7 separate regions of the Homo sapiens genome follow, and regions 1, 2, 3, 4, 5 and 7 are each linked to region 6. The links are contacts of gene promoters, found by promoter capture Hi-C in blood cells and fetal thymus (Javierre and others, 2016). All regions are on one chromosome and are shown on one strand. The core of a region is centred on a gene start or on the middle of the fragment in contact, and the rest is flanking DNA. Distances in the headings are between cores, read along the strand shown. Region 1 holds the start of UTP23 (UTP23 small subunit processome component). Region 2 holds the start of ENPP2 (ectonucleotide pyrophosphatase/phosphodiesterase 2). Region 3 overlaps LOC105375716 (a long non-coding RNA gene). Region 4 overlaps LOC105375716 (a long non-coding RNA gene). Region 5 overlaps LOC105375716 (a long non-coding RNA gene). Region 6 holds the start of SAMD12 (sterile alpha motif domain containing 12). Region 7 overlaps LOC105375716 (a long non-coding RNA gene).

Region 1 (3,008 bases), core at 284-2,783, 1.9 Mb before region 6:
AGTGCTGCACCACATTTTTCTTAGTACTGAAAAGTGGCCAAGGAGCTGGTAGATAAATCTGAGGCTATTTAAGAAAAAATGTTTTAACTGTTTTGCAAGACTCAGGTGGTATCTCGTTTCTCTGTCTGTGGTGGGCGCATAGTTGGAGTAGAGAGTTGGCATACAGGGATAAAAAGAGGATTCAAATTGAAAAGTACTGAGCAATTACACTCAAAGACCTTGAATCCAACCCTGCAAAAGTTTTCATGGCTTCCAATTCCTAAATTCATTTTAAGTTTAAATGAAAGCAACCATCTAAGTGATGTGCTGGGACTCAGATCAGGGCTAACATTATAGATCTTATTCCAATTTCATAAACCTACATATTGAAATAAAACCCCAAATGCAAACAATGCATTCAATCACGTTGTAAATCATTTTCTGTGCTGGTTCTTTCAATCTTTAGCCAAAACTAGATCTGGGACAGATTCCAGGCAAGGACAAAAATGCAAAATTCCATACTCCCCATTCTTTGATTATTTTACCTTGAAGTGGATACTCGACAGTTAGCCACGGGAGAACTTGAAATTTTCTGATTCATTCTCCTCATTAATCAAATTGACCAAGTAATTTTTAAACCTCCAGTCAGCTTTGTGCCTTCCTGTTACTGGCCCAGTATGTAGTCTTCCTATGTCAGAGACCATGCACATAAAAAGAGTACTTGAAACTTATCTAGACCTACAACCAGTTTGACAGTGAGGAAGTTGAACCCAGCTTTCTTCGGGAGTTGCCCAAGATCAAACGGCTTGGGTTTGTGGCAAAACCAGGACTCAAGGTTAGGAATTCTGACTCTAGGCAAACGAAGCTCTTGAGAGTTCTTCCAAAACACTCCATGCGAGTGATTTAGGATGGTCCTAAGGCAGGAGGAAATGCAAAATGGTGGCACCCTTTGCCCTGACAAATGGTTCCTGAGTGACGTTAGTTTCTATGGTGGTGTAGCAAGAACATTTGAACTTCAGGCACGAAAACTGGGTTCCAGACACTAACAAACTACGTGCCCTTCGTGAACGTGCTTAATTTCTTTATGGGAAAGCAGCCAGTACAAACCTCCCCACTCATAGCTATCCAATATATCATTTCCTTCTTTCACTTGGGAATTATAAACATTCAGGGGAATAATGTAAGGTAAATCACTTAGGACAGTGTCTGGAACATATTAAGGCTCAATATTATCACTGACTACTACTATACTGCCAGTCTTTCAGAGAAGCTCTTGCTACGCGCCTCTAAAACGTAGGTAACACGCTAAATGTATTCTCGTAATTTTCTTTTACCGTGGCCCCAGACTGCGCATGTGCGCCCCCGTGCGGAATCGCGCACCCCAGCGGTTTTCCAGCGTACGCACAAGTTCCGCCCTAAGGGACCGCCCCTTTAAGCGCGGGCACTGCGGTGGAAGCGCGCGCTGGTCTGGACATGACGTAAACCAATGGGCAGGCCCGGAAGACAGAGGCGTTTGCTTCCGTGGCCAAAGGCGCTTCATTTCCGGGTGAAACTGGCATTGAGGGTACTGGGGCGTGCGTGAGGCGTTTACTGATGCTTCCTGGTCCGGTGGCCTCGGTCCCGGTAAGCCAGGCATGAAGATCACAAGGCAGAAACATGCCAAGAAGCATCTTGGCTTCTTCCGCAACAACTTCGGAGTCCGCGAGCCGTACCAGATCCTGCTGGACGGCACCTTCTGTCAGGCGGCGCTGCGGGGCCGCATCCAGCTGCGGGAGCAGCTGCCCCGCTACCTCATGGGGGAGACGCAGCTGTGCACCACAAGGTGGGCCCGGGGGGCTGGGGAGGAGGCACAGAGGGTCCGTCGGGTGTTGTAGAGGCGAGGCCGTTGCTCACAGACCTTCATTGCGAGCTCAGGAGGTGCAAAACGCCCCGCCCACGTGGAGTTGACAGTTAAGTGGAGAGGTGAAGGTGGTCAGGCGAATACCTATAATAGAGGCAGATTGGACAGTGCCCTGTGAATATCACGTGTCGTTAGCCTGGCGAATGAGAGCACATTATAGCAGAGAGATCCGACTTCGAATCTTGATCCCAGTTCTACCAGCTCTGTGATTTCTGTCAAGTTATTTAGCCTCTCTGAGCCTCGGATTCCTCATTTGTAAAATAAAGATGATAACTGCTTAGAAGATTGCTGTAAGCTCAAACGAGTATAGTGTACTAGAGCATTTTTCGGTATCCAAAGTGTACCCGTCTTCAAATGGTTGCTGTCATTTGCATAGCTTTTCTTAGTTTAAACCAAAACTCTGCAAGCCTCACAGTGAACCTGTGAGTTACCATCTTTGATGTCCAGGGCAAAAAGTCAGTACTTGAGATTAAGGAATCTGCCCAAGCACATTTGTTTATTCAACTCGCTTTATTAAGTACCTCCTATATGCCACATACTGCTCCCTCATGGCCAGTAAAGTGCATAAGTCAGTCTGCAGTGTGTGTTTTCACTCTAGGTCTGATGTTTCCCCACTTCATTGAAATGTGGGAACACTTAGGATGGAAGCTTGTCGGGATGAAGAGGAGAGAGGAGAGAATTGTGACAGATTTCAGATAACATTTGAGCCCATTCACTTGTTCAGTTCTGAGAGGAAGAACTATTTTGAATGACAGAAAAGAATGACACTTCTTGTTGTGGAGACCTCTTCACACGAAATGGAGTTATGAAATGCCTGGGAAAGAGGTTGCAGCACAGAATATATTTGGGAGTGAAACTAGGAAGAAGGCAAATTGAGGCTAGGCCATGAAGAACTATTAAGAAATTTAGTAGTTTTTTCATTGTAGAATATTTACTTTTAAAAAGCAAAAAAAGAAAATTAAAATGACTCATAATACCACTACTCACGAATAATCACTGTTAACATGTGCAGTGTCATCCATCCAGTTCTTTATACACACTCACACAAGCACAAGAATGGACTTTTAAGCCAGGCAAGGTGGCTCACACTTGTAATCCTAGTAGCTACACAGGAGGCTGAGACAGGAGG
Region 2 (2,893 bases), core at 202-2,701, 1.0 Mb after region 6:
TTTTCTCACTCTTAACCCCGCCACACCCCACTTCAATTCACTAATTCACTTCTAATATTATTCTTTCAACCTACTGGCATGATTCAAAAGTAACTTAATTGATGTAAGGAAGATTTAGTATTCCATCAATGTATGTGTCCTAACCCGGTTGATAATAAAATTTCAAGCTGGCTAAACAGAGGCAAGTGATGGTCTTTCATAACAATCAGATCAAGACATACAGAGAAACACAAAATTCACAGGAAGACAGACAAACATGCTGGAATGTCAGGAAAAGTCCAGAAAATATTGTTCCCTAGAGTGCCCATTACTTAAAATGTAATTTTTTATTTCTAAAACCATCAGCAGCTCCAATTTCCAGGAAATTAACCAACTCATTGCTTAAGACCTGGTCAGTTAAGCCCCCTCTGTCTGCACAAGGAGCTCCTTTATAAGAACACTGTATGGGAACACTACTTATGGTGTAGTGTATTGTAAAAAGAAACTCTTTCACTTTGGTTCTATTATTTAAGTCAAGGTACACTATTAAAACTTACCTTTCCTTTGCCATAAGGACACACAATGAGGACAAATCAATCCTGAAAACTCTTTAAACACCTCCTCTCTTTTATGTTTTTCCAATTTTAAGTAAATCTTAAAGTCCTAAATTTCTGAAGTTTCATAAAGATAGCTCACTGCCTTTTTTACTTCCATTCCTTTTTCCTACATCAGAACTTTCTAGTGGCAAATACTACATCCTATATCATGTGACAGCAAATCAGATTTGGGTAGCTCCAATATTAAACCAACACCTGTTCTCACCACTTCTACTTTAGCCTTGTCTGTGAACAAGAGTTTTAATTGTATCCTAACATTTACAAATTTGAGTACAAAAATGGAAATAGCCAGTTATGAAACAATCATAAATGTTCTCTAATGAAAACCACACTCTCCCACCTGAATTATACACATAGGTGGTTTTACCCAGAGAAATTTAGGACTAACTTAGTTATACTGCAAGATTGTATTAAAAATAAATATTTTAATAAGCTTACATTGATTACCCCGTATGTAATATTTTTAAAAAATTGAAAATGCAAATAGTTTTGACACTTACCTGTAGGAGGACCTTCCTCCCATCCTTCTGCTCTCTTAATTCGATGTGCAGTGAATCCTAAGCAGATATTGACTCCAACGGCAAAAGTGAACAGGGATATTATCTAAGAGAATAAAGAGACCAAGTTGTCAAATACAGCTGGAGAAGACTAAATCAAATTACACAAAGGTGATTCAAATGGCTTCAATATCAACACCCAATCCTACCACTTCCAAAATGCATAATAAGGTGCTATCTTAATTTGCACAACAAAAAGGAAAATGCCAATCAGTCACTGATTCTGAAGATCAAGCATGTCCCCCGTCATTCCTCCGTTCTCCCACCTGACACGACTGGAACGAGCTCCTCCTTGCCATGTCGAGGATTCTTGGAAAGCCTTTTGCAGCGTGTTCTCTTTGCCTTCACGGAGTGCACTGCTTTGAGGCTCTGGGTTTAGTCTATTAACTATAAGCAATCCCACCTGGGAGGTTGACAGACTCCTCTGATTTGTCCAGAGCTTGATTACATCACAGGGTGTTCACAAATCGCAGCTCTGAGCCTAAGAGGCTTAAGCTATCATCCCCCTTATCCCCGCCCCCTTACAGGTCCCTCCCCTAACCCACAGACACTTTCATGTGGTATCCTCTGGCAACAGGAGGGTTTGTTACATTGCCGTGGCCCATAACAGTGCATGTTCATTTTCCTTTCCTCACAAAAACATGGTTTGTCAAAAAGAAACCAAATGCATTTCATCCGATAAAAATGAAAACAGGGCTGTGCAAGGGCTTTCCACCAGCTTTAAGCTTTTAAGGTTTACAATGCAGTCATTCAATGGCGTCAACCTCACCACTTTATTTTTTTAAGCAAGGAAAGTTTTATCATTTATAAACCTAATAACGTTCCTGTCTTTCCCATCTATTTATTTTGCTGGCAGTTTGAGCGACCCTGTCCCTAGTATCACATTCTCAGCTACTTCTGCCTCCTTGAAAGTTTCTCATGATGAAATTTCGCAAAATTGTAACTAACATAAAAGATAACATTATTTTCCCCATGCTGTGGTTCAAGTTTAGAGAAGTAACTTTTATCAAAATACTGGAAATGCCAGCCACGCAGCATAAAGTCCTTCTGCCCTGGGAGGACGGACAAAATAACTTCAGTCTCTGCCTCTTCTTCCCGTAAAGACTGTCAGCTTGTTTCGGGCGGGGCGGAGGAGGGGGCGGTTTTTGAGAGGCAGATGGGTGGGGGAAGGGGATGGCATGGGAAGCTTTATTAGCAATTGAATTTAGGAAGGAAATCTCAATGGCAGCAAGAATTGAAATGTCAAGAATTGTTTCCCTAGTTATTTCTTGGTTAAATGTAGCCACCAAATACTGTGTCCTTTGAGGCTATTGTGGGTACTAAAGTTTCTTTACTAAGCAATTTGGCAACCAGCACACTTTCAAAAGAAAAAATCAAGGGCTCTAAATCTGAAAGTTGTTTAAATATTACATGCCTTCAGGATTCAAATGAGGGAAAAAGATTTGTTTTTGGCCTCTTCCTCAGCAGGTCCAGTGACCATCTTTTCTTCCGCAGCACATGTGTTCGTGCGTAAACAAATACGAGACTTACCATGCAACAAATTAGTAACAGAGTAGTGGCTCTGCTCAAATAAAACATGATAGCACAAAAGCAAAAACTTGTTTATAGGGGGTTGTACAGTAGGCCTGGGTTTCATTACAGATTCTTAGAATCTAGTAATATCTAATTGAAAAAAAGAAAATACACATACTGCCAAACTGTTAATTGCCTTTCTAAAATCCTTTTAGTTTTGCACTGTTG
Region 3 (2,955 bases), core at 135-2,634, 1.2 Mb before region 6:
TGTCTTATTAAAGAAAATGTAATTAAGATACTTTATAAGATAAATAAATTAAATGACAAAAGCAACTGATTCGCTTTTCACCCTGGAAACCTATTTCTCAGTATTCTACACAGGTCTCAAATCAAGAAAAATATATTTGATATCAGTGTTTCCACAGGATAGATGAAAAACATAGATAATAGATAGATGATGTTGTTGTTGATGAAGATAGATTAGATAGATAGATAGACAGATAGATAGATAGATAGATAGATAGATAGAATAAGAACTGAGTTCTAGAAGAAACTCTAGAAGAAGACAGGAACATTAGCCAACAGGACATATATTCAGTCCACCTAAGGCAATTCTCAGCTTGGCTTCTCTGAAAGAAATGAGATAGTAAAACACTAAGAAAATCTTTAAAAGGAAGAGCTGATCCTTTGCATTGTTTTTGGCAATAAAACACTGAGCTTTCAGAGATTAGCAAGAAAGCCAAGCAATGACCTGACGTTCCAGGTCACTAGAAGATGCTGACTTAGACATGATTATATTAGTGCTTTGTTCAGGGACTTCCAAGTGAATGCACATACAACTGATAGCTTCAAAATTCGGTCTTTTAAGTAAGCATTGCTTGAAAGCGATATCTTAATCCATTTTAATTATTTTTTTCTTAACCATTTGCATCTCTGTGTTCTCCTGGTAAAAGAAGTGTGGTGGCTCTACAGCAAATATGTTTTACAGCTTTTGTGTTTGGAGAAGGTGGAAGGAAAGCAAGGAAGCTGGTGTTTACTAAGTTTTTCCTATGTACCAATTATTTCACATATATTAATAGATTTCATCCTTAGTAGTATCCAGTATTTGTCTAATAATCTAACTGTAGAAATAAGAAGCCTAAAACTCAGCAAATTTTCTAATCATATGGCTGGGGTTTGCACTCAGGTATGTCTGACTTTTGAGGTCACACTCTTACCAATATACTGGCTGCTGAAGAACTTTAGGTTTAAAGAAAGGGAAAAGGAAAATTACAGGGAGAGGGAAAGCATAGAGCTGCAGTCAAACTCCATTTGTGCCAGACCTCACAGTTCAAATGCATAGCAGCATAAGACCACCTGTCTGGTCTGTAGTGGAGTGCAAGTAGTAGGTAGACATAAGGAATCTTGACATACAAAGGGCTTTGGTGAACAATGAGCTCAGAACCTTTATCTTAGAGTTAAGGAAACTGAAACTGAGAAAGCTCCTTGTCCAAGGTTATACTTGATTTTTGAAAATTTGTCAACATCAGAGCTAAGCCTAGAACCCATAAATCCTCATTCTTAGTTCTAAACTCATTCCATTATTCCATTCATTCTACTTGAGAAGGAATTCTCAGACATAGGACCTGCAATAATTTCCTACGGAGATCAAAATCAAGTGCAGAAGAAAAGACTTTAGCCTGCGACCTGAGACTACTCAGAAATCCTAACATTTATTCAAAGTAATGAGTCCTTTGAAAAGACTCTTTCTTATTACAGTAAAGCATAAATTTAAATTGCAACCAAAAGAAAATAATTTCACCCTTAATCCCAAATTTATCTTCTGTGCATAAAGAGCATGGATTAAGAGACAGTATTTACTTGCTGTGTTGCCTTAAGTCACTAAACTTCTCTGAGCTGCATTTTAATTATCTATAAAACGAAGATAGTAATAATACAGAGGTTCCTCATTATCTCAATTTTATTATCTGAGTCTGCAGCATAATGAGACTGCACAAGAAATCAAAAGCCATCATAACATGAAAATATCCTCTAATGCTCTAATGAGTTGCTCATTTATGAAATTAGTCTGCTCTCTGCATCCCTTCTCTTTTAAGATTTGTATTTATCTCTAACCATCAAATCAATGCCTTGGATCATTAGTCTATAAATATCTTGCAAATCCTTTGGCAAGCAAAACTGTAAATCTCAGAAAAGTTTCAGACTCTCAAGCGATGAATGAGAGGAGTGCTAGAGAATAGTGCAAAGTCACACACAAAGCAACGGACATGGAAGGATCTGGCCTAGTTAGCATCTCAAAACCACAGAAGAGAGAAAAGGTAAGGTTGGTGACAGGGCAGGAATTTTAAAGAAAATGATTTGAGTATCAAAATAACAATAAAAATCTTTGGGAAAGCTGATTAAACCTTGAATGTTTCTCAAAAGTGACCTTTGAGGATTCTTTGAAAGTTAATAACATAAAAGGACATTGCATTATGTTCTCATTTATAGTTTTGCCAGAAATCATGTTTTTTTTTAAAAAAAGGACTCCATTATTTTCAGTAAACATGTCTTATTGTCATTATAACCAAAATTATTACATTTATGAAAAATATATTATTTTTATTACCTTTACTTTTTAAAGGTAAATTCTCAATTGAATCCTTTTTCCCTTATATACTATGAAATTTTTGTTGCAGCTTTAAGTGAATTTTTTGTAGTGAATAATTAAATTACCCTTGCATAATAAGGCTCTCTTTTATCTGTACCATCTTCTATTGTTATAGTAAACAAATGAGATAAAACTTGCAAATGCATTTTACAGATTCTATAGTGCTACGTTAATGTTAGAATTTACTTTGTTTCCAAAAAAATGTTTATTTATTATGTGCAAGTTACCTCCACATACATTATTTATTTTATTCTCAAAACAACTCTTGGAGGTAGGTATATATCATCTCCAAACTATAAATTAGCCAAATGAAGAAACTTGTTCAAGGTCACATAGCTATTAGGTGGCTTAGTTATACTGAGCACCCACATTGGCTGTTCTCAAGTCTAAGGTATTCATTCTATTAATTTGGACCATATGAAGCCACCAATTTTCAGTTCAATAATGGCTGAACATCTGCCTTTCATATGATTCTACCTTTCACATTCATTCAAGAAGTATTACTGTCTATTCCCCATCAGATACTAATCTGAATTCTAGGGATATAGTAGTGATCAATACAAGCAAGGTCAC
Region 4 (2,935 bases), core at 178-2,677, 1.3 Mb before region 6:
AGGTGCTCTGTTTTCCTGGTCTACTTTCATGTCTCTATCCCAGTTCAAATACGTTGATTCTTCTTCCCCTATTTCCCAGCAGTCTCCTCCTTTTATCAGAAACTCTGCCAGGACTGGATTTTAAGCTCACTCACACTAAGTGAAAGGAAGGTGACTTTTAAAAGCCTAATGACAAGGTAAGGGGACTACTTGAGGCCAGGAGTTCAAGAAAAGCCTGGACAACATAGTGAGACCCTGTCTCTATAAAAAATTAGAAACTTAGCTGTGCATAGTGGCACTCACCTGTAGCCCCAGCTACTTAGGAGGCTGAGGTGGGAGGATAACTTGAGGCCAGGAGTCGGAGGCTACAGTGAGCTATGATCATGCCACTGCACTCTTGCCTGGGCAACAAAGTGAGACCCTGTCTTTAAACAAACAAAAAATTTAAACTAATCTGCATAAGTGAAAAGTTAGCCTCAGGTATTAGTGAGAGGGATCTGATCCCCCTACCCCATCCCTGCATAAAAGAGCCTTGGGGATTCTAACTCAATTGATTCTGCCCAACTACTTGGAAATCCCAGACCAGACACTTCAAATATTGGGCATTTTGTCCACTACCTGTTAATTTCTAGACTTAATTTCCAGTGTGGCCACAAGATGGCACTACTCTCCAACTGTTACCATACTGTACCAGGCAGGGCCCCAGGGAGCATGGACACACAGTAGGCGAAAACCTTGGTAATAACACAAGGAGTGTTCCCTCACATCCCCTTCTACCACCATCCTTTCGTGTGTGTGTGTGTGTGGCCAAAGATATATTAAGTCAGCAAACTCTGCTTTCAAAGGAAGCTACAGACGTAAGTAAAATAAAATACCTGAATTAGGAGCAACTTCATCCTAAACTTTAGTCAATATTTAGGTATCAATCCTTGAATGCATGGCAACAGAAACTATCACTACTTAAAAAATAACAATACTGCAAGCCACTTTTAAAAAGCTTTCATTCTTTTTGTTTTACTGTATCAAAAATGATGAAAAAAAATGATGCTTTTTCTCTTAAAAAATATCTCCATGCTTGTGATGTTTTGCTTGTTTTTTCTTATAGGGCCGAAGCGATTGGCAGAATTTCTGCTGTGGATTTGTAGCTGACTTCAATCACTGATTCAGAGCACACACACTCAGTACGCACACACATACACATTCTCATACATGTGCAGAGATGCAGAGATGCACACGTGAACATATGTGCACATGCATGACTACTCTTCCAGTAACATCAATAGTAGCACGCTGTGCTCCGTTTCCCATGGCAGGGCCTGATGAAGGCCTCCGTCTGACCCCTCTCTCCTGAAACTGCTCACAGGCAAAGCCTCCGTTTTCACCAAAGCCAATGCTGATGCTGCTTTCTTAGCTGTCTGGCACCCTCTTTAGCACATGCGGTTAGAGTTACCAGGCCAATACTTAGAACATCACTGGTAAATGTCACAAGGATACTAGTTTCTCAAACACACAGTTCAGAAAATCGTGTAACTCCAGCAAAAAAAACGCACCTTCCCCGGAAAAAAGGCTTTCTCATGTGTGGAAGACAAATTATAGAAAGGAACCCATGTTGCAGTTATGAACTTACTCTAGACAGCCCACATTTTCTATCTTCCAAAAGACAGTTGGCCAAAGTGATGACATTTGAAAGAAATATGTGTTTTTGTTTAGTTTTGTTTAATCTCCCTCCCACGCCCAAATCTGCATCTCCTCCCCTCTCTTGAGGCACCTCAGCCTTCTTCATCTGGTCTGTGTCTCCAGCAAGCAGACAGGCCCCAGCTGTGCATGAAGCATGAGCTCCCCCTGCCGACAGCTGGGAAGAAAGACAGGCTCTCTCAAACCCAGTCTGAGATTTTTCTCGTAAGCTTAAGTCCAAGTTGTGCAAAACTGCTTGAACGTGCACACTCACACATACACACACACACGCACACACATGTAAACAAAGTGATAATTGAAACCTTGTGTATTTGGAGGAAGCATTTGGTTTAATTTGCTGCAAAAGTATTTTCACCAATGGATCGATAATGCAAATGTATGCTATGGTAAGATCAGCTTTCTATTCAGTTGTGCTGGGGTCTTGTTGGGTGTGTTTTTAAAAGTGTTGAAAGACTATCCTGCAACCTACTTATCTCTGCTGGTTCTGATAAAGTGCATGAAATTTCCTAATCCATTCCCTAACAAGGCAGTAAGCATTTCCTTTTTCTTAAGTCTGCTGTAATGGACATCGGAGATTAAAGAATAGGTCCCAGGCAGGGTCACAGGAGGCAATTTGTGAGTGGCTGGCACCTGAAGGGAACCACACAGTACAGTAGGTCCAAAATTGGATTTTTTTTCTCTTGTTCTATATTGAGCTGACTCTGAGATGGTTACTCTCCTTTTTTTTTTTATCTTAATATGAATTGATGGTTTTGTCCAAATTCTTACAATTTGCAAGACATTGTTCAGAATTACTCCAGCATTCTCTTATTGTTTGGCACATTCATTTGACAAATGCTTATGTGTTCTGACACTGTTCTTAGATTTTCAGTTATAAAGATAAAGAAAACACAGTTGCCACCCTCAAGACTCAAAGCCTCGGTCAGGAAACAGGCAAAGAATAGAGGATAGTGTGTAGCTTGTGTTCCATTTCCCCGAACGTGGGGGATTTTAAAGGCATTTCAGAAAAACTTAAAACACAGACAGGTGCCATGCTGACTTTACCCAGAGTAGCAAGCTTTTAGGGAAAGCCTGAGCGTGCCTCAAAAGATTACAGCCCACAGCAGCATTGGGTAAAGAGAACATCAGCTGGACTGATGGACCAAAAGGCCAGGGAAATAAGGCTGCACAGGTTAAGGGCCTTGTAGCTGGAGCTGATGGCAGAATGCCTGGCTACCAGCAATGGATGCCAGCATAGCATCCAACAGACAGGTGGGCCAGT
Region 5 (3,219 bases), core at 177-2,676, 1.1 Mb before region 6:
GCCTCCTCTTCCTCTTTCTGTTCCTTAGTGTTCCCATTGGCTCTGTCCTGGAACAGCTTCTTCCTCACTTCTCACTTTATCCATTTTCCTCACCGTTACCCATGGTGGAAGGAAGTATAGTGCACATTTATTGAATGCTTAGTATACACTAGGAACTATAAGTGTGTTATATATAGCATCTCACTTAATCCTATCAACAATCCCAAAGCTAAATACCATTGTTATTGATGGAGGTTGGTGTCATCTGTCCACTGTTGAGTAATGCCAGGTTTGGATTTTAGTCCAGGACTATCTGACTCCATGGATTTTGAGCTTACTATCACACCCACCCACCTTTCTCTAACCATGTAAAAGGAAAACCCTACCAGGTCCCAGCACACACTCAATTGCTTACTGGATATATCCACTGATGATCATGCACACATTTCAAACCCAAGATGCCCCCGAGTAAACTCCTGGTTCTTTCATCAACTATTTATTGAGCACTTATTATGTGCCAGGCACTGCTGTAGGTGCTGAATCTACTGAAGTAACCAATAGAAACAATCTCTAATTTCATGAGATTTACTGTTTAGCTGAAGGGACAAACAGTGAAAGAAACAACATCAGTTTGAGAGAAACACTACAAAAAATGAAGCAGGCTAAATGGACAGAGAGATGGAGAGGGCTGTACTGTAGGTGGAATAATGGCCCCACAAAGATGCAAACCCTCTAATCCCTAGAAGCTATGACTATGTTGCATTACATGAAACAGGGAATTTTACAGGCGTGGTTAAGGTTAAGGGTCTCGAGGTGGGGAGTTTATCTAGAATAACGTAGATGAACCCAGTATCATCACATAGGCCCTCAAAAGTGAAAGGTTAGAGGTATGTGACAAGGACAATGGAATAAGATGCAGGAGAAATTTAAAGCATGAGAGAGACTTGCCTGCCATAGCTGGCTTTGAAGATGGAGGAAGGGACCACAAGCCAAGGAATGTGGCATCTCATAGAAGCTAGGAATGGCTGTCAGTTTACAATCAGTAAGAAAATGGGGACATAAATTTCTGCTGCTTTAAGCCACTAAATTCTGATATTTTTTTCCAGCAGCAACAGAAGACTAATGCAGGCTATTTTTTTTCTTTTTTTTTTTTTTTGAGACAGAGTCTTGCTCAGTCGCCCAGGCTGGAGTGCAGTGGTGCGATCTCGGCTCACTGCATGCTCCACCTCCCAGGTTCACGCCATTCTCCTGCCTCGGCCTCCCGAGTAGCTGGGACTACAGGCGCCCGCCACCATGCCCAGCTAATTTTTTTGTATTTTTTAGTAAAGACAGGGTTTCACCATGTTAGCCAGGATGGTCTCGATCTCCTGACCTCGTGATCCACCCGCCTCGGCCTCCCAAAGTGCTGGGGTTACAGGTGTGAGCCACAGCACCCAGCCTGATGCAGGCTATTTTAAGTAGGGTGGCCAGAAAAGGCCACTGTAAACAAAGCCTGGAGAGATAGCTGAGAGAAGAGCTTCCCAGGCCAAAATAAATGAGTCTGAAGTGAGATGAACTTGGAGTGCACAAGGAATAGTAAGGAGGTGTATGTATCTGGAGTGAGGGGAGAGCTGTGGGAACTGAGAGAGCAGGAACAGCCTAGGCCAGCACATGTGGAGGTGTGCAGGTCATGCAGCTTTGGATTTTATTCTAAGCACGATGAGAGGACAGGAGAGCAGGGGAGAATCATAACCTGACTTAGCTTGTAAGTTTGCCTGTGGGTGCTGTAATGAGTGTGGACTGGATGGGGCAAGTGTAGCAGGAAGGGAGTTCAATTAGGAGACTCTTGATTGTTATCCAGCATTCTAAATAAGAGAAGACAGCTTGGACTAGGTTGAAAGGGGTGAAGTAATTGGTCACATATAGGATATATTTGAAAGTCAGAGTTCATTCTATTTTCTGATGACTTGGAAGTAGGGTGGGAAAGAGAGAAGCCAGGATGGGCAACTAAATGCATGGTGGTGCCAGACAATGACATGGGAAAAGTGTGGTAAAGAAGGTTGGGAGGGATCAAGAGTTGGGTTTTCTTAGACATAAGTTTTAGATGCCAAATAGCCATCCAAGTCAAGATGTCAGGTTTTTAGGTATGTGAGTTTGAATTTAGGGACAGTTTGGATTGGCGGCATGTGGTAGGCAGATTTTAGTTACTCCCCGAAGATGTCCACATCCTAATTCCCAGAGTCTGTATGTCATGTTACATGGCAAGGGGCGATTAAGGTAGCAGACGGAACTGAAGCTGCAAAACAGCTGACCTTAAAATAAAAAGATATCCTGGATTATCTAGGTGGACCCGATGTAATCAAAATGATACTTAAATGAAAGAGAGGCAGAGGACTCAGAACCAGAGATATGGCATATTCAACTAGCCAATTCTGGCTTTGAAAAGGATGAAAGCTGGTTTTTGCAGTTGGTGGAAGTGGTCATGAGCCAAGCAATTGCGGCAGCCTTCTAAAATCTGGAAAAGACAAGGAAACAGATTCCTTCTGAGAGCCCCCAGAAGGGAACACAGCCCGCCAACACCTTGAGCGTAGTTCAGCGAGAACAATTTCAGACTTCTGAGCTAAAAAGCTATAAAATAATAAAAGGTGTGCTGTTTTAAGCCACAAAGTTTGTGGTAATTTGTTACATGTGCAATAGGAAATTAACATAAGGCATAATTTCTCGGAAACTTATTTTTTCTTCAGTGTATCCTGTCTTGGTAAATGACATAAACTTCACCTGAAGTTTCACATGAAAGCAGAAATACGTGCCATCCTTAATTCTTTCCTCTCCTTAATGTTCCTGATCCAGTTACTATCAAGTTCTCTAGATTCTACTTACTAAATATTTATTCAAAGTTACCCTCTGTCTCCTTTCTCTGCACAGGTCATGATCATCATCATCATTCCCCTTTGGGAGAGAAGACAATAGAAACCCACCATCTGTTCCCCATTTAGCAACCAGAATAAGTGTTCTAAAATGAATATTTCAAATTATTCCTCTCACCTTGAAACTCTTCAATGGCTTGCTATTTCACTCCATAAATTCTCAACTGCTTGACATGGGTTAGAAGATCCTCCAGGGTTGCCTCTGTCTTCAGCCTTATTTCCTAACACTCGTCCTCACACTGAACTTCTTCCAGATCCTAGAAAGCATTAGGAGGCCTCTTCACTTCAGGTGTTGGCACTGGCCTTCCTCGTCCTCATAGAAAAGACTCTATCA
Region 6 (2,794 bases), core at 1-2,500:
GCAGCAAGCCAGCCTCGTGGCCTTCTCGTCTCTAGCCTACAAGGAATAGGCTGATTTCCCCTTGGCAAGGCGCCTGAAGCAGCTGGCAGGCAAGCCCTCCTCTTCCTACTTCAGTACGCCCTCTGACCTGACTGCACTCAGAAACCAAAATTCTGCAGGTGAATGTAGGCTCCCATTTCGTCCCACAATCATTTCATCATTCAGGCACAGCTTGACCTCTAATGTGACATCACAAACCCTTCCGGTCCACAGTTTTTTTTTCTTCTTCAGAAACTACCTAAACAAGGAAGTTTGTGTTCCAAGGTAAGATAACCTGAAATGAAAAACTCAGGATCCCTCACGAACAGCCTGACCCTGCTTTCAACCAGGAAGTTCAAGGGAGGCAGGACTTTACGGTCAAAACTGCAAAGCCGAAGCTCAAGACTGTAAGAAGAAAGTGATCTTCAAAGAAAAGGATTCACCCAAATCGAAGAGGTTGTTGCACTTCTTTTCCCTGGCTGATTACATTTCATGTCTGTAAACTTTGCTAAGCCCGGGGCGCTGGCTGTATAAGCAGAGACAGGTGTAGGGACACCTCTACCCTCTGGGTACATCTGCGGCCGCCGCTGCTGGGTGCATAGGACGAAGGGCCCTCGACCCAATCCCAGTCCAAGCTTCCGGATGACGCACCTGGGCTGGGGACCTCTCCCACGTGAGGGGGGCCAACCAAGCATCCCCAGCCCCGGGGCCACCCAGCCTGCTCCGGAGGGAGGGGGCAGGGAAAAAGGGCATCTCGGGGCCAAAACCTCATGCCGGATCCTCCGGCTTTCCCCCCATTTCCAGGATATCGTTTCGCATCAGGGACACTCGTCTCCACACCTCCTACCTCAAAGTCCTACGCACCTACCCTTCACGTCTCTCCAAAGCAACTGAATTAAAGCGCCTACTGGCCTTGGCGGCGCAGGTGAGTGCCAAGAGGTGGAGGAGGAAGGGGCCCGCTCTCCGCCACCCCCTTTCCTCGCCTCCCCACGATCGCCAAGCTTCATCGGGGATGTGTGCCTTGGGGTGCGCGGGTTAAGAGGGAGCTTAAAAATGCCCCAAGCGTCCCTTACCTTCCACAGCCATTCTCTCAGAGCTTCCCTAACGCATGCATAATTTTCTTGGCCGAGGTACTCCTCCTGCCCCGCGCTCCCCCCTTCCTCTCGCTTTCGCCTAAATATTCTGCGCTTATCTGCTCCAGGACCAACCTGCCGCGGTCACGCAAAGCGAGGCAGCCGGCTCCCGGCTCGGCGCGCGCAGGGCGTCCTGGGAAGTGTAGTTCCCTCCCTTCGCTCGGACTGGGGAGAGCACCCCGACTCCTCCGCGGAGTGCCGCCTGGCCCCGACACTTGGAGAGCAACTCCAGCTTCAGCTGGCCAGGCCGAGCAATCTCTCCTGGGGAAGTTGTGAGGGGACCAGGGATGCCTGGTTGTGGCGGGGCGGGGGGGGAGGGGGGGGGGGTTCCCGGGAAGCGGTCTGGACTACATCTCCCAGGAGGCCGTGCGCTGAGATAGGTTCGCTGCTAAGAGTAGGGACCCGTGATTGAGCCCTTCCCTGTCCATTACAAGGGGTTTGGCACCTAGCAGGTGTGGTGAGGTGGGCAGGTGACGGTCAGCTGTGTGATGAGCTCCTGCGAGCTCGTCCGTGGGCCTCTGCCGCCGGTACCGCCCCGCCCCCTGGCCTCCTGAACCACCATTTAGTAGGGAGAGCAGGACCACTGTCCTCCTGTGTGGTTCTCCACCTGGGCCAGAGAACGCTGCCCAGGGTGAGGTTGAAACTTGTTCCTTCGCACCCTGAGATGTATGGGTTTTGTGGGGGAATTCCGACGGTTGATACAGTTGTCTTATCCTACAGGGTGGTTCAGGTGGCTAAATACTTGGCATGGGGGTGTAGGGGAGGAGGAGTGGCTTAAACCCCAATAGGCAACGTCCCCAAGGGGTTGTTAGGAACAAAGTCTGGGAGCCAGGATTGCACCGGAGGAGGTCAGATGAAAGCCTGTCTGGCTTCCAGGATAGGAGGCTTTCAATTTGCCTAGACTTGGAGCCTGTTGACAGCCTGTGATAGGGCCTAATAATTAACAGTGCCTGAGAATCAGGTTCCTTCAACTTCTGAACCTATGTCCTAGCTGTAGGTGCTGGGGATGCTATAAGCAGACATGATAATGGGAATCACGTGGATAGCAATACAATTCGACAGCTCGTAAAAATTAAGTTTCTAAACATTTTTTCCTGCGTGTGAAAATACGGATACAGTTGTGGCTGGAAGGGGTAAGGGAATAGCCTCGGGAATAAATCTGGCTCAAGACTGGATTGACTTTTAAAGGCCTTCAGTTTACAAATGTATTTGGTACCACATCCACCCAGTCACTCATATATAATGTTAATCTCTGTAAAATGAGGAAGTACAAAAATCGGATTCTTCCCATGATGACTACTTAGACATTTTTGTGTGTCTTGGTCATCAGCAAAAAAAAAAAAATGTTTTTCAAAACAATTTCGTTTCTCAGTGTATACATGCACACCTGTTGTTCTGGTCACTAATTACATGCTTAGTTCCCCTACTGGGTAATATATAATAATAATATGTGTATAGGTACTTTAAAAAATACCTGCGTGTAACCATTAAATGCTCTTGTTGATACTTTAATTCTGAGTCCATGGAGCTGTGTACAAGTCAAACCTAAGCCTCTCTTTTAGGTACAGTAGAGAGAGACCCATTCAGTGAGACATAATTTCCATGGGAAAAAGAATTTTCCGACCTAATACACAGCCAAGCAT
Region 7 (2,868 bases), core at 126-2,625, 1.2 Mb before region 6:
TCATTCATATATATATTACAGAGGTATGCAGATTAGGCCCTACCATAACCTTGCTTCAAAGATATAACTATGCATAGACATCTGTTCACTTGAAGAAGCTCAATGTTTCTCCCACTAATGAGCCAAAATACCCAAGGGTAGATTTACACCAGTTTATACAAATATGGCACAAAAACCATTAGCCTTGAATGTCCTCTTAGAGAAGGTGATCATCTTTACAACCACTTCCCCTTGAACATGCATGTAAACACACACACACATACACACATATGTTAAAACAACAAAACCCATGATTTACAGTGTAGTATTCGAATAAAGAGGAAATCCTCTGGAAAACCAACTTCAAACTCTGGGTTTGTCCATCTATGTAACCTTGAGAAAATTACCAAGCTTCTGTGAATCTCCATTTCTCCATCTCTAAAGGGGGATAGGAATACTATACACACCGTAATAAAGAGCATTGTAAAAATTAAAGCAAATAAGGTGATGAAAGTGAATCCCGTCTTAGTACCTGGCACATAGTAAGTGTTCAATAAATGTTTGATATTCAAATAATCCACAAATATTTATAGAACATTTGCTGTATACCGAACATTAGACCATGTTCTGGGAATAAAGAAATAAAAGATGGGATTCCTGCACTGTATGAGTTTACATCCTAACAATAGTACTGGTAAGCAAATAAAATCAAGCTACTGTTGTTGAAGAATGCATATAAGGGCCAGAGGCACTCAAGGAGGGCCACACAAACCAGACTCAAAGAGTTAACGAAGGTTTCCCTGAGAAGTAATACTTGATCTGAACCTTAAGGACTAAGTAGACATTAGCTAGGTAAAGAACATGGTAAACACTATTCTAGGCAGAGGGAACATGTTTAAAGACATGGAGGCAATGAAGTCTGCATGACAAATTCAAAGAAATGCAAATAATTGACAATCTATCTAGAGGATGGATAAAGTTGACAGCCCATTATCTTGGAACTTATGCTTTCACTGGTATTGTTTATTTCACTGTTTTATAATTGTCTGGTTGTTTATCTTTGTCATCTACACTATGGCCCATGAAGACAGGAACACTATCTTGTGCAATGTTGTAACTCAAGCAAAAACTGCAGTAGCTAGAACACAGAAGGAATGCAATAAATGTTTGAAGAAGTAAATGAATGCTACCTGTCCCAAAGTGTTCATTTTTAAATACAGAAGCATAGACTCAGAGAGGTTAATTCACTTATCTAAAGATACATGGTAAACCTGATATCAGACTCTGAACTACCACCCTTCTGTCAAGTCTGCATGATACCACTTCCATTGTAAGTGGGCAAAAATTGCCATTGAATTGTATCAGAGAATCATGAGAAGAAGTCATATGATAGCATTCAATACAGCTCTAGGCATTTAACCAGTCTGAAATTTCCGAATTAGAAATGCAATTTACTCTTTTCTGAGATCATTCGGTAACTGAGGATTGAAGCACAGAGACACACAAATTATAAACTTTATAAATTCTACTCCGGTAACTGGGAAGAAACAATATACTTTTGAGAATTAAACAGATTTTTTTCTCTTCTAGAAGATCCAAGACCTGTCGTTGTAAAACTTTATTAGATGAGAGTCACAATAATAATATTTAGGAATGAGAGGCATTTCCATAATAAAAGTTTACAGGAAAGCAGTGTTAAGCCAATAAGCCTGAGTCTGTTTTCAGAGACTCAGAGGCAGAGGACTAAGGAAGTCTTAAGTAGCCCATAGAACTTCCAAATACATCCAGATAGAAATAAGATTTTCTTACACAGAAATCTGTAAGAATACTATTTATTTCGCCCACTGGTCTAATTATAAGTGTCTTCACTTCAGCAGCTTGTTGGAGGCAAGCCTCTTAAAGATCTTTGTGTACAACAATTCCTGAAGAGGTTCTCTAATGTACCTTTATTAAGATTAACAAGGATTGTTTGAGAATCGAACTCACATGCAAGAATGAGAACTAATATAGTTTACTATAGAATTAACCTAAACATAACTATTCAATAAGCTATACATAATATTCAGAATCCCAAGTCTTCCTCATTAGAAACAAGCCCACCATGACCAAAGGAAATACTTTTCTTCTTGTTTTGTCAGGATTTCTTACCTTTCATTGACCCTCTTCCTTGTCTTTAGAACTGCTTTACTTTCATTTCTTCATATGTCTAAATGGCTGTTTGGAATTACAAAAGAACTGCTTTGATTCGACTTCTCATAGTTCAGATCTTAAGTGGAGAATGCTCATCAAGTCTATTGCTCAGTCTGGCAGAATCCTTGGCTCTTTGAAGATTCCAGGCCCTCACAATTTCATGAGATATTAGTTTCCCTTAAAAGCTGGATGAAAGCTTGGATTCAGTAGTTGAGACAGAGGCAGAAGTAAGATAAAAGAAGGAGAAAAGATCATAATTAATACTGGCACAAGTTAAGAGAGGAAGGCAAAGATATCTTGAGGGACTGAAATAGGAAAACAAAAAAAGTACATGCACAGTGAGCACAACACAGCATATGGCAATCAAAGGGATGCTTGCTCATGGTACATGGTTTAAAGAGAAAAAAAATAGGGCTTATATTTGCTGGTTGTTTCTAAAAGAAGGGCCTGGATAGCTTGGTAATGGCTTCCCATTCTGCATAATCAAACTCATGTTAAACAGACATCAATACTCTTTAAGTACTTTAATAAACTTGATTCTAATACTTCAGAATCTCTTCACATAATGAGGATAGTATGTGGGAATATTAAAATTCTAAAAAAAGTTTGCTTCATCCAATATGATTCAAAATGGAAGGCAACTTAACGTGTTGTTCAAGATCCTTGATTGTGTACAAATCCAGATATCTTTCGTTATTG

What was found. The method cuts DNA at HindIII sites, captures the fragments that hold promoters and counts their contacts. A CHiCAGO score of 5 or more calls a contact.
Region 1: a contact is called between the fragment with the promoter of UTP23 here and the fragment with the promoter of SAMD12 in region 6, in 1 of 17 cell types (fetal thymus). The highest score is 5.0, in fetal thymus.
Region 2: a fragment that was not itself captured here is called in contact with the fragment with the promoter of SAMD12 in region 6 in 1 of 17 cell types (naive CD4 T cells); the score reaches 5.2 in naive CD4 T cells.
Region 3: a fragment that was not itself captured here is called in contact with the fragment with the promoter of SAMD12 in region 6 in 2 of 17 cell types (non-activated CD4 T cells and naive CD4 T cells); the score reaches 5.1 in non-activated CD4 T cells.
Region 4: a fragment that was not itself captured here is called in contact with the fragment with the promoter of SAMD12 in region 6 in 5 of 17 cell types (M0 macrophages, M2 macrophages, fetal thymus and 2 more); the score reaches 8.7 in M0 macrophages.
Region 5: a contact is called between a fragment that was not itself captured here and the fragment with the promoter of SAMD12 in region 6, in 5 of 17 cell types (fetal thymus, activated CD4 T cells, naive CD4 T cells and 2 more). The highest score is 11.7, in fetal thymus.
Region 7: a contact is called between a fragment that was not itself captured here and the fragment with the promoter of SAMD12 in region 6, in 1 of 17 cell types (M0 macrophages). The highest score is 5.6, in M0 macrophages.

Annotation. Positions count from the first base shown.
Region 1 is chr8:116,764,991-116,767,998 of GRCh38, forward strand. It overlaps UTP23 (UTP23 small subunit processome component), which reads left to right and starts at 1,534. Exons shown (of 3, transcript NM_032334.3): 1 at 1,534-1,801. The coding sequence starts at 1,614. It also overlaps a transcript of EIF3H not described here. RefSeq lists enhancers at 1,451-1,600, 1,611-1,920. The HindIII fragment of the contact is 9,967 bases long and covers 1-2,525 here.
Region 2 is chr8:119,637,329-119,640,221 of GRCh38, forward strand. ENPP2 (ectonucleotide pyrophosphatase/phosphodiesterase 2) reads right to left here and starts at 1,511. Exons shown (of 25, transcript NM_001040092.3): 1 at 1,420-1,511; 2 at 1,097-1,199. The coding sequence starts at 1,452. RefSeq lists a silencer at 1,627-1,726. The HindIII fragment of the contact is 849 bases long and covers 1,028-1,876 here.
Region 3 is chr8:117,443,733-117,446,687 of GRCh38, forward strand. The region is part of intron 3 of LOC105375716 (a long non-coding RNA gene); the gene reads right to left. Among named protein-coding and RNA genes, the nearest start is that of MED30, 76 kb to the right of the region's middle. The HindIII fragment of the contact is 3,753 bases long and covers 1-2,955 here.
Region 4 is chr8:117,328,492-117,331,426 of GRCh38, forward strand. All of the region lies in intron 4 of LOC105375716 (a long non-coding RNA gene), which reads right to left. Among named protein-coding and RNA genes, the nearest start is that of MED30, 190 kb to the right of the region's middle. The HindIII fragment of the contact is 907 bases long and covers 975-1,881 here.
Region 5 is chr8:117,516,036-117,519,254 of GRCh38, forward strand. LOC105375716 (a long non-coding RNA gene) reads right to left here. Exons shown (of 7, transcript XR_928569.3): 2 at 3,004-3,142. Among named protein-coding and RNA genes, the nearest start is that of MED30, 3.1 kb to the right of the region's middle. The HindIII fragment of the contact is 5,785 bases long and covers 1-3,219 here.
Region 6 is chr8:118,620,713-118,623,506 of GRCh38, forward strand. SAMD12 (sterile alpha motif domain containing 12) reads right to left here and starts at 1,251. Exons shown (of 4, transcript NM_207506.3): 1 at 1,092-1,251. The coding sequence starts at 1,104. It overlaps SAMD12-AS1 (SAMD12 antisense RNA 1), which reads left to right and starts at 289. Exons shown (of 5, transcript NR_038210.1): 1 at 289-474; 2 at 823-943. RefSeq lists enhancers at 244-293, 324-533, 1,144-1,343 and a silencer at 1,444-1,593. The HindIII fragment of the contact is 1,953 bases long and covers 1,018-2,794 here.
Region 7 is chr8:117,463,543-117,466,410 of GRCh38, forward strand. LOC105375716 (a long non-coding RNA gene) reads right to left here. Exons shown (of 7, transcript XR_928569.3): 3 at 2,128-2,365. Among named protein-coding and RNA genes, the nearest start is that of MED30, 56 kb to the right of the region's middle. The HindIII fragment of the contact is 1,975 bases long and covers 389-2,363 here.